Regions from separate parts of the Homo sapiens genome. Here region 2 is linked to region 1. Evidence: promoter capture Hi-C in human tissues and cell types (Jung and others, 2019). All regions are on one chromosome and are shown on one strand. Each heading gives the region's core, a stretch centred on a gene start or on the middle of the fragment in contact. The rest is flanking DNA. Distances are from core to core; before and after follow the strand shown.

Region 1 (7,893 bases), core at 973-3,472:
ATAGAGTGTAGAACAGGCACAACCAAGCTTGAGGAAGACAGAGATTTCCTGGATGGGTGCAGACCCGTTGAGGGTGGTTGTCAGCAGCAACCCCACCACCAGCAGAGCAGCCACTGGAGGTGGATCTAGGGAGAGAGAATGAAATGGGGCTTTGAGTCTCTTCCAATTATGTCATCCCATGCAGAGACATATGCAGTGAGACTGATGTTGAATGCTAGGTGGGACAGCTGGGCTTTGAGAAAGTCTCTCTGGACCGGCTGCCTCCTATTAAACAGGTCCAACAATGGTGGGAAAGTGTGTCGGCAATGGGAGGGGCCAAGAAGTCCCCAGATTGGACCCTAAGCACTCCCGGACCCATGCTGGTCTCCACTACCCCGCCCAAAAGTATACCCACTCTCATACCAACCTTCACTTATGTGGTGCAGTTTCCCCCTCCTTTTCTTGTTCAAGTAGTGTCAAGCCCCACAGCTGACAGAAGGGGGTCCTACAGACAAGTAAACATACAGGAGAGAATGGAGAATGGTAGATAGGCAAGCACTCTGGCTCCTGTGACAAATATCTGTCTTCCCATTCAAGGGTTCAATGTATCTATGGTTTCCTGTGTCCTGGTCCCTGCTCTCAGGTCTTTCTGAGTCACAACACAACCTACACCTATCTCATGTCCCCTGCAAGAAATAAAAAGGATGCTGGCACTGTGCAAATCCAGCAGAGTAGAAGTGGGTCTGCACCCACTGGTCTCAAAGCCACCTGCCATGCTCTCTTTCTCCAACTGTCCCCTGAATTGCCCCCTCCCCCTTCTCACCAACCTCCAGAGGTGTGAGCCAGTCTCCTCCTCCTTGCCTTTCTTGCAGAACTGGCCAGCCTTAAAGCAGGCCTATGGACAAACAGATGAAAAAGTAAGACAGGAAATGAGGGGTGGCAGTAAAGCCCTTGGTAGAGAGACCAACGCTAAGGATAAGAATCCCCATATTATTGATATCTGTCTTTCAACATTCGGGGTTTTGCTGGTGGAATATTCTCGTTTTGTTTAGGCCCTGCTTCAAGGTTCTAGAGATAACAACTCCTTCTCTTGACGTCATACTCTTCTCATTACTCCCTTCTCCAATTCTGAGGATTCACCACTAGGTGCGCCACATCCCCTTGCTCTGCGCAGCAGAAAATGGGGGAAGGGCGCCACATATTCTAGAAAACAGGTCGTGAATTGGTACTTGTCAGTATGTCTCCCTCATCACCCCTACCTCCAAAGCTCACCCTTTCAAGCCCCCAGTTTAGGACGGTGGGGGAGGCAGATGGGGATGGAAGGTGGGGGAAGCGCCTGGAACACCATTAGAGAGGGGAAGATTAAGAGGTGCTCCTGGATGCCTGACCTGCTCTGGTCGCAGTCCCCCACCCCGATTCGGTTCTCCAGTGTTTGGCACCCACCCCACATCCCCACACACCTCCAGAAATCCAGGGAATATTCGTGCTCCTCCTTTATTTCAAGCCTCTCCTCTACAGATGCTCACTGTGTCCTGTCAGAATACGCCAGACCTACCGCGCAGACAGACTTTGACATCAACCTGGAGTCTGTGGGAAGGGACAGCACCCAGGACACGGGGCCCCACAGGCCCCTTTCCGGAATCAGGGCCCGGAGCAGCGAACGCGACCCACCTCCCACGGGCTAGGCACAGAGCTGGGACGCTGGCCCACGAGGGCCCCCCCAGGCGCCCCCCAACTGCCTCCCGGGCGCCCCCCAACACGGCTCCCGTTTGGCCATTTCTCCCGCAGGAGCCTCCCCCACAGCCGTCTCTCGGTACCGAAACCGTCGAGGGCTGCGCGCGGGCGCCTGCAAAGCTGGCTGGGAAGCGGTCAGCGCGGTTCTCCTCCAGACGATCTGACGGTGCCTCTGGAGCCAGCCCCTCAGCCCTTGGTCCGGCCTGGCCCGCACCAGTCACCGCCTCCCCATAGCCAGGGATCTCGGGCACTGCGCACCTCTCTCTAGCGCCCGGCTCCGAACGGATCGTCTCCTCGTTGCCAGGCTGTCAGGGTCCGGGGGGCAGGTTGCCAGCCGGTCCACCCTGGCGGACCACCCCCACACCACGGCCCCCCACCTCACGCACCCCTACTTGCCTTCAGAGGCCCAGAGCCCAGGTCATCGGCCTCCCCCTCCTCTCTTCAGCTCTCCTCTGGCTGCTCTTCAGTTGGATTCCCACCGCTTTCCCAGCGATCCGAATGGCAAAGACGAGTCCCGCCCCCCACGCCTCTGCACCAAACTGGGCAGGGGCTGCGCAGGATGCGGCAAGAACCGCTCTCCGCGAGGGTGTCGGGAAGGGGGGCGGAGGGATACGGCGCGAAAGTGCAGGACGCCCCCCCTCACAGAACCACCATAGTTCCGACCCAGAGGTGGGCGGGGCCAGGACGAGCCCCAGCCGGGGCCTGCGGGTTGGCACCAGGCTGCCTCAGGAGGACCCCGCGGACCCTAACGTGGCGACGACCACCACATTTCTGGCGCTGCTATAATATATGGCACCGGCGGGCGGCTGCGGGGCCGGGCGGAGGACAGGATCGCGAGGTCGCGAAGAGCCGCGCTGGAGGGAGCAGCGGATGGATACCAAACCGTCCCTTGGTGTGTCTGCACCCCCGCCCCAACCGCCCCCCTATAAGGACTGCTGGGTGTTTGCCCTCTCCCCCTCCCTAGTCTGCTCACCCTCCTTCCTGGATGTTAATGGGAGAGGGGGTGTCAGCACTGCAGTGTGGGAGGGGAGAGGCGATTTCAGTCCAGACAGGCCCGGGGTTCTAGGGTGGTCGTCCTGTGCGTTTCTTTCCCAGCTTCGTGGAGCCACGCAGGGGAGGAAGGTACACCTGCTCTTAAGTGAACTCCGGGGCAGGGGGCTCCCATCAAGGACTCACCACTGCCCCTCTTCTAAAAGAAGGTAGACCTAGACCTCTAACCCTAGGAAACCAACCACTGGTCTGCACCAGACTCATTTCTTTCTGCCACACCGCTGTTTCTCATTTCAAATGGTGGCTCACGTTGGCATTGCACCGTCCCCACAGTTGCCCCCAAAAGAGGACCTTTCCCTGTCAGGACCCGCAGGAGGTCATAACAGTCCTCTCTCTTTGATGCCGCCAGGTAGGGATGGTCCTGGCTTCTCTTCGGTTCCCTGTCAAGTCTTCTCTTGCCATGATATTTGGCAGTGTGGAAATGTGGCTGGTATCAAACCAGCTTGGATCTCCGCCACCTGCCACAACTACCTATTGTTTCAGCAGTCATTCTCAGGAGAGGATCCCACCGTGCACCCCCCTCCCCGAGACAAAGCAACCTGGCTCATTTGAATCCTCTTCTTTCACCCCCACATCCGTCCTCTACTCTTGAGCCCCTCCTTTCCCTGCTTCCTGCATGGGACAGACAGAGCAATGTGGTTAAACACCAAGTTGATGTTGTTACTGTTGTCCATTTGAAAACTCATTTAGACACTACCCTCATTGTGTTTGGCAGGTAACGGTCCCCTAAAGATGTCCATGTCCTGTTCTCCAGAACATGTACCATTTTATATTACCTGACAAAGGATCATTAAGATTGCTATTCAGCTGAGTTTAATTTAAGATTATTCTGGGTTATCTTGGCCAATGTAATTGCAAGGGTACTTTAGATGTGGAAGGCAGGGACTCCATGTCAGATTGAAGCAGCATAGAAAGTCTACACTGGTCATCGTTGGCTTTGAAGATGGAAGGAAGCCAAGATCCAAGAAATACAGGCTGTCTCCAGAACCTGGAAAAGACAAAGAAACAGATTCTTCCCTAGAAATGCCAGAGGGATAGCTCCTCTGGCAACATCTTGATTTTAGTGTGGTGAAGCCCTTTGAAGATTTCCAACCTTCCAGGACTGTAAGATAATAATAAATTGGTATTATTTTAAGCCATTCCATGTATGGTAACTGGTTACAGGGTAGCAGCACCAGACCTATCTGGTTTAACTTTTATATAACAAAGTTGTGCATTGTCTTTCAGTTGCCGGGGACCCTCAGATCATGTTACCTGAGCATCCTCAGATGAACCAAGCATGCAATCAGAGGGAGAATGTAAGTGTTTTGAATTAGGACCAGGGCTGAATTAAGAAGTGGACACTGGATGGCAGGATCCAGTCAGATCATGCCTCTCAGCATCACCTCATTGTAAGATCCAAAGCCATCAGGATATACCCTTAATACCCAATGCTTATGAAAACCTGACCCAGCCCCCATCTCAGGGAGACATTATTTTGGGAAGTATCCCTGGTGGTCTCATTACTTCGTTACAAGTAATAAATCCCCTTACTAAATCCTTGCTGTGATCATGGGGTTGATGTCAAACGACTGAACCCACCCACTGTGTTGGTTGGTAACAATAGCAGGAGTAGGAACAGAATACACTCACCATCCTGATGAATTCTATTCCCATTGCCTTTCTTTACCTGTGCTTCAGTCTCTGAGAAATATTTTAGGGCTCATCTCACCAATACAGCCACCAATCCCCTTTACTGTTTTATAATTATGTCCAAAATCACATTTGCACAAGCTTCTGTGGTAATTCTGCAGGTGCTAGGATCTTTATTCCAAGATATTTACTGACAGAGGAATGGTTCTACCAAAAGCTGACAAATTTTACTGTGTGAGACTTTAAAATGTGTGTTGGACAATTTGTTGTCAGTACTCTTAGAAAACATGGTCTTGTATTGGTTAGTATGTATTGAAGTGATAAAGGCCCTACTTTAAGCTTTTCATATGTTAGCTTTGTATGGGTATGTATCAAATAGATTATTATTTTTAAAACCTTTGAGCAAATAAAAGATTGAAATAAGATACTCTGACTGCTAAGCACTATTTATTTCCTCCTATAATTGATTCTAGTTCAATAAATTGCAACAGTCATCTTTCTACTCCTCAGTGCCTACACTAGCACCTGTGTAACCCTGACTTACCACTGAAATCTAAATGTCAGAGCCAAATAATCCATAAGCATTAAGTCCATGATACAGATGCAACTGTGCTCACTCATCATACTCACTGTTTTCTTCCAAATCCCACCCACCACCCCCAAGCATGCTCATGAACTTGCACACCAGCCTATCACTTGCCTGTTCTCCTCTTGTCTGTCTCAATCACCATGGTCATGGACTTGTTTTTGCCTATTTAGTTTTACTTGCCTCTATACTGTCCTTTATGGGCCTCAAGCAAAGCTTCCTTCTGAGACTTCTCTTTTGGTCGAGGCTGAGCCAAACCCTGTGTTTTCTTATAATGTATCCCCTTCTTCTATCTCAAAGTTTCAAAGGTTGTACACAGAAATTAAAGTCCCCTGTAGTCAGGAATAACTAGGCTGAGGTTGGTCTGGTGAACTATATGGTGAAATTGGCCCAACAGATGTCTATTTTCAGTGTAGCCTGAAAATGCTATGGGAAAGATCTCAGCCTGTCTCTACTTCTTGAGACAGGGTACATTTGCAGAACTGGTGGGGAGGCCTGGCCCAAGAATATTTTCAGGTCATATTTGGGGTGGGGTCTACTTCAAGAGAATTAATCTTGAAGAAAAACCAAGTCACGCACAAGGACCCTAGCCCATGAACAATGCCTTGCCATTAGGGAAGTATAGATATTCTAATAGCAACACTGAAATTATTATAGAACTCCTATTTGTGCCTATTCCAACACAAACCCTCAACTGTATATCTGTCATAGCAAAGGCAGGTTTATACATATCCAGGAAATAACTGTCTTTAAGTAAACTCTGTAATGCTCCAGTGTAAGGAACCCATTAATAAAGCATAACCTAAAGAGAGGAAAATATCCTCCTTTCTAACATGGATTTAAACTTTTGACTACTACTCAGATCTGACATCATGAAAACCCTGTGTATAGGTGGAGTTAGGAAATTAGAGAGAACAGTTAATTAGAGGACATTAAATGCCTGGCAATACAGCTTAGAATGGCAGCAACAACTGGAAGAATCACAGGAAAACCCCAAAAATTCAGGACATAGGAAATACCCCTTGAGGATTTTTAGAACTATAGGAGCTGGCAAGGAGAGCTAATTAGCTTTACAGGGAGAAGAAAACCTGAATTTCCACAATGTCAATAAATATTAGAAATTAATGGAATGTCAAATTGCTTTCTATAATAGAAAAAATAATGAGAAAACTACACTACCTTTTGTTGTTGTTTCTCATTAACTAACCATCACTTCCTGCCTCATCATGATAGGGCCTCACCACAGCCTGCATCCAGCCAGCAAATGAGAAAAAGGAGAATAGAAGTAGTTGATTTCCTTCTTAAAATCCATGGTGAGGAAATGCTCACATCATTTCCACTCACATTCCATTGATGGGACTTGATATGGTTTGACTGTGTCCCCACCCAAGTCTCAACTCGAATTGTAACTCCCAGAATTCCCACATGTTGTGAGAGGGACCCAGGGGGAGGTAATTGAATCATGGGGGCCAGTCTTTCCAGTGCTATTCTCATGATAGTGAATAAGTCTCACAAAATCTGATGGGTTTATCAGGGGGTTCTATTTTTGCTTCTTCCTCATTTTTATATTGTCACTGCCATGTAAGAAGTGCCTTTTACCTCCTGCCATGATTCTGAGGCCTCCCCAGCCATGTGGAACTGTAAGTCCAATTAAACCTCTTTTTCTTCCCAGTCTCGGGTATGTCTTTATCAGCAGCGTGAAAACAAACTAATACAGTAAATTGGTACCGGTAGAGTGGGGTGTTGCTCAAAAGACACCCCAAAATATGGAAGCGACTTTGAAACTGGGTAACAGGCAGAGGTTGGAACAGGGCTCAGAAGAAGACAGGAAAATGTGGGAAAGTTTGGAACTTCCTAGACACTTGTTGAATGGCTTTGCCCAAAATGTTGATAGTGATATGGAAAATAAAATTCAGGCTGAGGTGGTCTCAGATGGAGATGAGGGACTTGTTGGGAACTGGAGCAAAGGTGACGCTTGTTATGTTTTGGCAAAGAGACTGGCAGCATTTTGCCCCTGCCCTAGAGATTTGTAGAACTTTGAACTTCAGAGAGATGATTTAAGGTATCTGGCAGAAGAAATTTCTAAGCAGCAAAGCATTCAAGAGGTAACTTGGATGCTGTTAAAGGCATTCAGTTTTATAAGAGAAGCAGAGCATAAAAGTTTGGAAAATTTGCAGGCTGACTATGCGATAAGAAAGAAAAACCCATTTTATGGGAAGAAATTCAAGCCAGCTGCAGAAATTTGCATAAGTAGCAAGCAGCCTAATGTTAATCCCCAAGACCATGGGAAAAATGTCTCCAGGCCATGTCGGAGAACTTCCCAGTAGTCCCTCCCATCACAGGCCTGGAGGCCCAGGAGGAAAAGTGTTCTTGTGGGCTGGGCACAAGGCCCCCATGCTGTGTGCAGCCTGGGCACTTGGTGCCCTGTGTCCCAGCTGCTCCAGCTGTGGCTGAAAGGGGCCAACATACAGCTTGGGCTGTGGCTTCAGAGGGTGGAAGCCGCAAGCCTTGGCAGCTTCCACGTGGTGTTGAGCATGCAGGTGTACAGAAGTCAAGAACTGAGGTTTGGGAACCTCTGCCTATATTTCAGAAGATGTAAGAAACGCTTGGATGCCCAGGTAAAAGTTTGCTGCAGGGGTGGGGCCCTCATGGAGAACCTCTGCTAGGGCAGTGCAGAAGGGAAATGTGGGGTCAGAACCCTCACACAGAGTCCCTACTGAGGCACCACCTAGTGGAGCTGTGAGAAGAGGGCCACCATCCTCCAGACCCCAGAATGATAGATCCACTGACGGCTTGCACTGTGTGCGTGGAAAAGCCACAGATAATGCCAACCCATGTAAGCAGCCAGGAGGGAGGCTGTACCCTGCAAAGCCACAGGGCAGAGCTGCCCAAGACTGTGGGAACCCACTTTT
Region 2 (7,893 bases), core at 2,898-5,397, 200 kb before region 1:
CAGGGAAATACAAATAAAAACCAAAATGCAATATGATCACCATACTCCTGCAAGAATGGCCATAATAAAAAAATTTAAAAAAAAATAGATGTTGGTATAGATGCAGTGAAAAGGGAACCCTTCTACACTGCTGGTAGGAATGTAAACTAGTACAACCACTATGGAAAACAGTGTGAGATTCTTTAAAGAACTAAAAGTACAACCACCATTTGATCCAGCAATCCCACTACTGGGTATCTACCCAGAGAAAAATAAGTCATTATACAAAAAAGATACTTGAACCCACACATTTATAGCAGTACAATTTGCAATTGCAAAAATGTGGAACCAACCCAAATGCCCATCAATCAATGAGTGGATAAGGAAACTGTGGTATATATCGATATATATGATGGAATACTACTCAGCCATAAAAAGGAATGAATTAATGGCATTTCCAGCAACCTGTATGGGATTGGAGACTATTATTGTTAGTGAAGTAACTCAGGAATATAAAACCAAACATCATATGTTCTCACTCATAAATGGCAGCTAAGCTAGGATGCAAAGAATGACACAATGGAATTTGGGGACTCGGGGAAAGGGTAGGAAGGAGGAGAGGGATAAAAGTCTACAAGTCAGGTTCAGTGTATACTGCTCAGGTGATGGGTGCACCAAAATCTCACAAAATACCACTAAAGAACTTACTCATGTAACCAAATACCACCTGTTCCCCAAAAACCTGTGGAAATAAAAAAAAAAAAGTAAACAAATAGTATTGTACAAATACAAAATAAATGAAAAGGAAAATAAAATAAAAAAAAGAAAGAAATTCCTTTACCCATGTCACCCTAGAAAGAAAGAAACCAAAAATCATGTGGAACAAAAGGAATGAAAAGACCTCAGGTCACTTTCTGCTGCTACATTTCCAGATACACTCTGTTTTAAATCTTCTATTTTATTACACGTAGGTATTTTATCTTGGTACCAGCAATCTTTCTTCTAAGAATCTATCCCAAAAACACAATGAAAAAAGACCAAATGGCATAAACACAAGGCCATTACTGGCAGAACAAATCATAACAACAGGAGACTAGAAATAAAACAAATGTCCACCAATAAGTGGTTTATTGAATAATCTAAGGTATATCTATATCCTAGAATACTATGCAGCAATAAAAAGCAAGGACTCCTTCTCTATACTGCTATGTATTGATCTCTAGAATATATTCTTAAGCGGAAAAAAATGAGGTGCAGAAATATGTCTGAGCTGTTGCTGTTTATTATGGTAGACACTAGCCACATATGGCTATTTAAATTTAGGTTGATTAAATTTAGATGAAATAAATAATTCAGTTCTTCAATTACAATCACCACATTTTGGGTGTTCAAGAACCACAGGGACCTAGTGGCTACTGTGGTGAACAGTGTAGACAGAGACTCTTTATCTCTGCAGAAATCATATTGGACTCCACTGAAGTAGAGTAGCCTACTTTTAAACCATAAAATAGGAGAAAATAATGTATTTGCTTATAATTTTAAAATTAGAAGGTCAAAACAAACATTGATAAAAATGATTATGCATAAAGGGATAGAACAGCAGCCCAGGATTAAAGACAATCATGTGTATTATCTCAAAATATAATACATATTTAATGGTTTTAAGCACTGAAAAGGATAAGTAATAATGACCAACCCAATAGTAATGGGCAACTCTAGTACCAAGAATGAGACCTCTAAAACATTTCCCACTAAAAAGAACCAGACTCCTTTGGAAAAAATGTCTGACTCCAGGTCTGGGGTAGGAATGGTACCAGAGGAGTCTAGACCAAACTAACATACTCAAAACCATGTCAAGAATAAGTTGAGCTAAAGAAGCTTCCATTCACAAAGACAGAAAAATCTGAACATCAATAAAAATATTGCAATAGGTTAAAACACATCAGATATAGAAACATCTAGAGCTTATGAAAACACTTTAAAATAATAATAGAATAGAACAAAAGAAAACAAAACAAAATCAACTCACTGCTCCCCTCTGAAGAATCCTAGAACAACCCATTATTTTGAAAAGTAGAAATATAACAAAAGAATTAAGCATTCATCTTATTTTCCTATGCATACTATACTAACCTATAGTTGATGAGGGGATGTTTCTTTTATAGAATAATTCAAGCTAATAAATGCCAAAAATAGAATTAGAACATCACCTTGCTACAACTTTTAATGAAATGTGGACTTATACACATTTAGAGGCTGCAAAATACTTGAGGTATAATGCAGATGGGAATTTTTATAATCAATAAATCTAACAACTTTTGAACCTAGTGATCAATCTTAACATCGTAAGAGGAGAGACAACTAGATACAATTAACCTCCTCATGGTATAATGCTTTAGGAATAAACAACACCACAGATTTTTCTGCCAAAAAATCTGAATTGGATCAAGACTCTAAATCTAATACAAATTTAAAGGAAAAGAAGTTGCCAGTGGAATATAATAAACAACACAATAAGGATATAAGTCAGCAAAATCCACAAAGCAAACTCCATAGGGCAAAATATCTTAAGCAAATAAATTGGAATGTGTGATGGTTAATTTTATGTGTCAACTTGACTGAGCAACAAAGGTCCCAGATATTTGGTCAGACATTATTCTGGGCTGGACATGGTGGCTCATGCCTGTAATCCCAGCACTTTGAAAGGCCGAGGTAGGCAGGTCACTTGAGGCCAGGAGTTCAAGACCAGCCGGGCCAACAGCCAAACCCTGTCTCTACTAAAAATACAAAAATTATCCAGGTGTGGTGGCACACGCCTGTAATCCCAGCTACTCAGGTGGCTGAGGCAGGAGAATTGCTTGAACCTGGGAGGTGGAGGTTGCAGTGAGCCGAGATGGTGCCACCGCACTCTAGCCTGGGCAACAGAGAGAGATCCTGTCTAAAAAAAACCAAACAAACAAACAAAAAAAAACCGTTATTCTTGGTGTGTCTTTGATGGTGTCTCTGGATGAGATTAACATTCAAATGGGTGAACTGAGTAAAGAAATTTGCCTTCTCTAATGTGCATGGGCCTCGTCCAATCAATTGAAGATGTAAACAGAACAAAAAGGCTGACCAGGAGGAATTTCTCTGCCTCATTTTCTGAACTGAAACATTGGTCTTTTCCTGCCTTTGGACATGAATTCAAATCACCTTTTCTTGTGTTTCTAGCCAGCAAGCTTTTGGCCTGGAATTTACAACATTAACTCTCCAGATTCTCAGACCTTCAGTTTTGAATAGGAACTATACCACAGGCTCTCTTGGAAATCAAGTTTGCCTACTGCAGATGTTGACAAATCTCAGCCTTCATAATTACATGAGCCAACTACTTATAATAAATCTTTATCAGTATGGTTCAACTTATAATTTTTCAACATTATGGTGGTACAAAAGTGATATCCATTCAGTAGAAACTGTACTTTGAGTACTCATACACCTGTTTTTCACTTTCTGTACAGTATTCAATAAATTACAGAAGATATTCAATACTTTATTATAAAATAGACTTTGTATGGAATGATTTTGCCCAGGTGTAGGCTAATGTAAGGGTTCTGAGTGTGTTTAAGGCAAATTAGGTTAAGCTATGATGTTCAGTAGGTTAGGTGTATTAAGTGCATTTTTGACTTATGATATTTTCAACTTAGGATAGGTTTATTGGGATGTAACTCCATAATAAGTCAAGGACCCTCTGTGTGTTTGTGTGTGTGTGTGTACATATATGTGTGTGTTTGTGTGTGTATATACATACAAGCATATCTCTGTTTTATTGCATTTCACAGATATTGCATGTTTTACAAACAGAAGTTTTATGGCAACCTTGCATCAAGCATGTCTATTAGCACCATTTTTCCAATAGCATGTGCTCATTTTGTGTGTCTGTCATATTTTGGTAATTCTCACAATATTTCAAATTTTTTCATTATTATTGTAATAGCTATTGTGGTGATCTGTGAACAGTGGTCTTTGATTTTACTGTTGTAATTGTTTCGGGGCAGGCACCACAAACTACACCCATCTAAGATGACTAACTTAATTGATAAATGTATGTGCTCTAACTGCTTCACTGACTGGCTGTTTCTCGGTCTCTCTCCCTGTCCTCAGGCCTCCCTATTCCCTGGGACACAACAATATTGAAATTAGGCTATTATATTAACCCTATAATGGCTTTGAATGTTCAGGTGAAAGGACGAGTCCCATGTCTCTCACTTTAAATCAAAAGCTAGAAATGATTACACTGAGTAAGCAAGGCATGTCAAAAGTTGAGACAGGCCAAAAGCTAGGCCTCTTGCACCAAACAGCCAGGTTGTGAACACAAAGTAAATGTTTTTCAAGGAGATTAAAAGTTCTCCTCTAGTGAACACATGAATGAAAAGAATGCAAAACAGCCTTATTGCTGGTAAAGAGAAAGTTTTAGTGACCTGGATAGAAGATCAAATCAGCCACAACATTCCCTTAAGCCAAAGCATAATCCAGAGCAAGGCTCTAACTCTATTCAATTCTATGAAGGCTAAGAAAATGTGAGGAAGCAGCAGAAGAAAAGTGTAGCCAGAAGAAAAGCTGGAGCTAGCAAAGGTTGGTTCGTGAGGTTTAAGGAAAGAACCCATCTCCACAACATGAAAGTGCAAGGTGAAGTAGCATGTGCTCATGTAGAAGCTACAGCAAATTATCCAGAGACATAGGTAAAATAATTGACGAGGGTTGCTATACTAAACAAAATATTTTCAATGTAGAGAAAACAGTTTTATAGTGGAAGAAGATGCCATGTAGAACTTTCATAGCTAGAAAGTAGAAAACAATGCCTGGCTTCAAAGCTTCGAAGGACAGACTAACTCTTTTTTTTAGGGGTTAATAAAGCTGGTGACTTAAAATTGAAGCCAATGTTCAATTACCATTCTGAATATCCAAGGGCCCTTAAAAATTATGCTAAATATACTCTGTCTGCATTCTAGAAATAAAACAACAAGCCTAAATGACAGCACCTCTGTTTACAGCATGGTTTACTGAATACTTTAAGCCCGCTATTGAGGCCTACTGCTCAGTGATTCCTCTGGTGGACCCAGGCAAAGTAAATGGAAAAATCTTCTAGAAAGAATTCATTTTAAATGCCATTGTGAACATTGTGATTCATAGGAAGAGGTCAAAATATCAACATTAAAAGGAATTTGGAAGAAGTTGATTCCAACCCTCATGGATGACTTTGAGGGGTTCGAGACCTCAGTGGAAGAATAACTGCAGATGTGATGGAAACAGCAAGAGATCTAGAATTAAAGTAGAGCTTGAAGATGTGATGGAATTGCTGCAATCTCAAGATCAAACTTGAACAGATAAGGAGTTTTTTCTTCTGGATGAGTAAAGAAAGTGGTTGGTTGAGATGGAATCTACTTCTGTTGAAGATGCAGTGAGCATCATTGAAATGACAACAAAAGGTTTAGAATATTACATAAACTTGATAAAGCAGTGGCAGGGTTTGAAAGATTGACCTTAATTTTGAAATAACTTGAACTCTGGGTAAAACGCTATCAAATAGTATCACATGCTTATGGAAAAATCTTTTGTGAAAGGAAGAGTCAATGGATGCAGCAAACTTCATTGTTGTCTTATCTTAAGAAATTATTAGAACTGTGCCAACTTTCAGCAACCACCACCCCGATCTGTTAGCCATCAACAGCATCAAGGCCCTCTACCAACAAAAAGATAATAATTCACTGAAGGCTCAGATGATTGTTAGCAGTTTTTAGCAATAAAGTCTTTTTAAATTAAGGTAAGTACACTATTTTTATAGACATAATGCTATTTGCATATTTAATAGACTACAGTAGTGTAAACATAACTTTTATATGCAGTGGGAAACCATAAAATTCATGTGACTTGCTTAATATGGTATTTGCTTTATTGCAGTGGTCTGCAACTAAACCTGTAATATCTCTGCAATGTCTCTGTGTGTGTGTGTGTATATATATATATACACAGATATACATACATACATATATGAGTGTATGTGTATATATGTGTGTATATATATACACATATATCACACACATATACATATATATGTACACATATATATATGAGTCGTTCTGTTTTGTTGGAGAACTCTAAGTAGAAGGTTGAAAAAAAGGATGGACCTTCTTTGAATTAAAAGGGACTTGACACTTTGGAGAAATTACAATTAAAACCAGTAGGAGATAGTACCACATGCTCACCAGAACAACAAAAATGGAAAAGATGGAAAATACCAAGTGCTGGTGAGGATATGGATTAAGTGAAACTCTCACACACTGCTGGTGGGAATATAGATTGAAAAAAAAAAACACTGTAAAAACTGCTTGGTGGTATCTATGGAGCCACACACAGACATACCCTATGACTCAGGAATGCTATTCTTTGGTATATGCCCAAGAGAGATGAAAATATATGTCCATCTATTTGATACAAACAAAAATGTTCGTATGATCATTACTCATGATAAGTCAAAAACTGGAAAATACCCAAGTTTTTATAACAGATAACTATATTGTGAAGTATCCAAACAATATAATACTTTACAACAACGAGAATGAATAATCTACAACTACAAACAACAATACATGTTAATCTCACACACATTATGTTGATTGAAGGGAGCCAGACACAAGAGAGTGCATGCTGTATGATTCCAGTAATATTTCTTCTAACCTCCTGATAAAGCTTGAGGAAGGAGAATATCAACAACCTATTTCTTTTTCTTTTAAGTTACTTAGTGTCCTCTTATGTTATGTAGCTTAACCTCAGAGAAGCAAAGCAAGTTTCTTCTGAGCCCTTTAGAAGTGAACAACTGCATATAAGATCAAAAGCTAATACTATGTCTGGTGGACAGACAACTGGGTGTGAGTGATTCAGACGAGAATCATACATGGATGCGCAGTCTGCACAAAATCCCACAGTAGTCAATGAGTCACCATGGTAACCATGCTGGCCAAGGAGAAAGGTGGAAAAAAAGCAAAGAATAATCACTCTGATTTGGTTCATAAAATGTGCGAAGAATTGAAAGAGACTGACATGACCACATTAACACTCCTTAAGTGTTCCTAACAATAGATACTCATCACAACTTCAGTGATATAAACATATATATATATATATATATATATATGTGCATGTACATACACTGATATATCCACATGCTCTCTCGCTCTCTCTCACCACCAAAGAACTCATGATTCATCAGGTAAGGAAGAAAAACACAATTCAACTGATTCAATTCTAACCACAAATATAAAATTGGAAGTACTATAACTATTCTTTTATAGATTGATCTTTCTAGAGTTGACCTGTAGATTGTCTTTAGGCCTTTTCTTCTCTTCTTGAGTTGGATGACTCAGTTTTGTTATGATGTCTGTTCTCCCCAAAATGATCTATGCTTTCAATGGAATCCCAGTCAAAATACTAGCATAAATTTTTTTCTAGAAATTAACAAGTTGATATTAAAATTCATGTGGAATTCCCTCAATTTTTGTTTTTCTGATTTAAAGTCTTTTAAAAAATGTAAAACGAGGCTAAAACTGATAGACTGCAAGGAGAAATATTAATACATGAATCAAATTGCTAGGGACATCTTCTAACTAACTGCATAGTTCAACCCCCATCTGGGAGATAAATGGGAATGACTTATACAGTCAGAAAAAATATGTATTTATTACAAGTGCATATTAAGATCAAGTTCTTTCTTCAGTGTGGGTAATTCATTGCTTTCAAAGCAGGCATCACTTAGATGGGTGTCAAGGGCTACTTCAAAGCATACAGTTGCTGATGAAAGGAAATTCCACCCGCTAAACCTCTTCCCCAGTGATGAGATGAAAGTAGCTTCTTTATTTTTAAGCTATTTTGTGAACCTCA

Evidence for each region. Contacts are between HindIII fragments. The study calls those that stand out against the background at their distance.
Region 2: a fragment that was not itself captured here is called in contact with the fragment with the promoter of GPRASP1 in region 1 in 1 of the 25 tissues and cell types used here (hippocampus).

The regions. Positions count from the first base shown.
Region 1 is chrX:102,645,812-102,653,704 of GRCh38, reverse strand. It overlaps GPRASP1 (G protein-coupled receptor associated sorting protein 1), which reads right to left and starts at 2,222. Exons shown (of 6, transcript NM_001184727.2): 1 at 2,110-2,222; 2 at 1,972-2,018; 3 at 1,440-1,530; 4 at 807-874; 5 at 407-484; 6 at 1-125. The region is part of intron 4 of ARMCX5-GPRASP2 (ARMCX5-GPRASP2 readthrough); the gene reads right to left. The HindIII fragment of the contact is 5,623 bases long and covers 1-4,966 here.
Region 2 is chrX:102,846,067-102,853,959 of GRCh38, reverse strand. The region is part of intron 12 of ARMCX5-GPRASP2 (ARMCX5-GPRASP2 readthrough); the gene reads right to left. All of the region lies in intron 3 of LINC00630 (long intergenic non-protein coding RNA 630), which reads right to left. Among named protein-coding and RNA genes, the nearest start is that of LINC00630, 81 kb to the right of the region's middle. The HindIII fragment of the contact is 3,240 bases long and covers 2,528-5,767 here.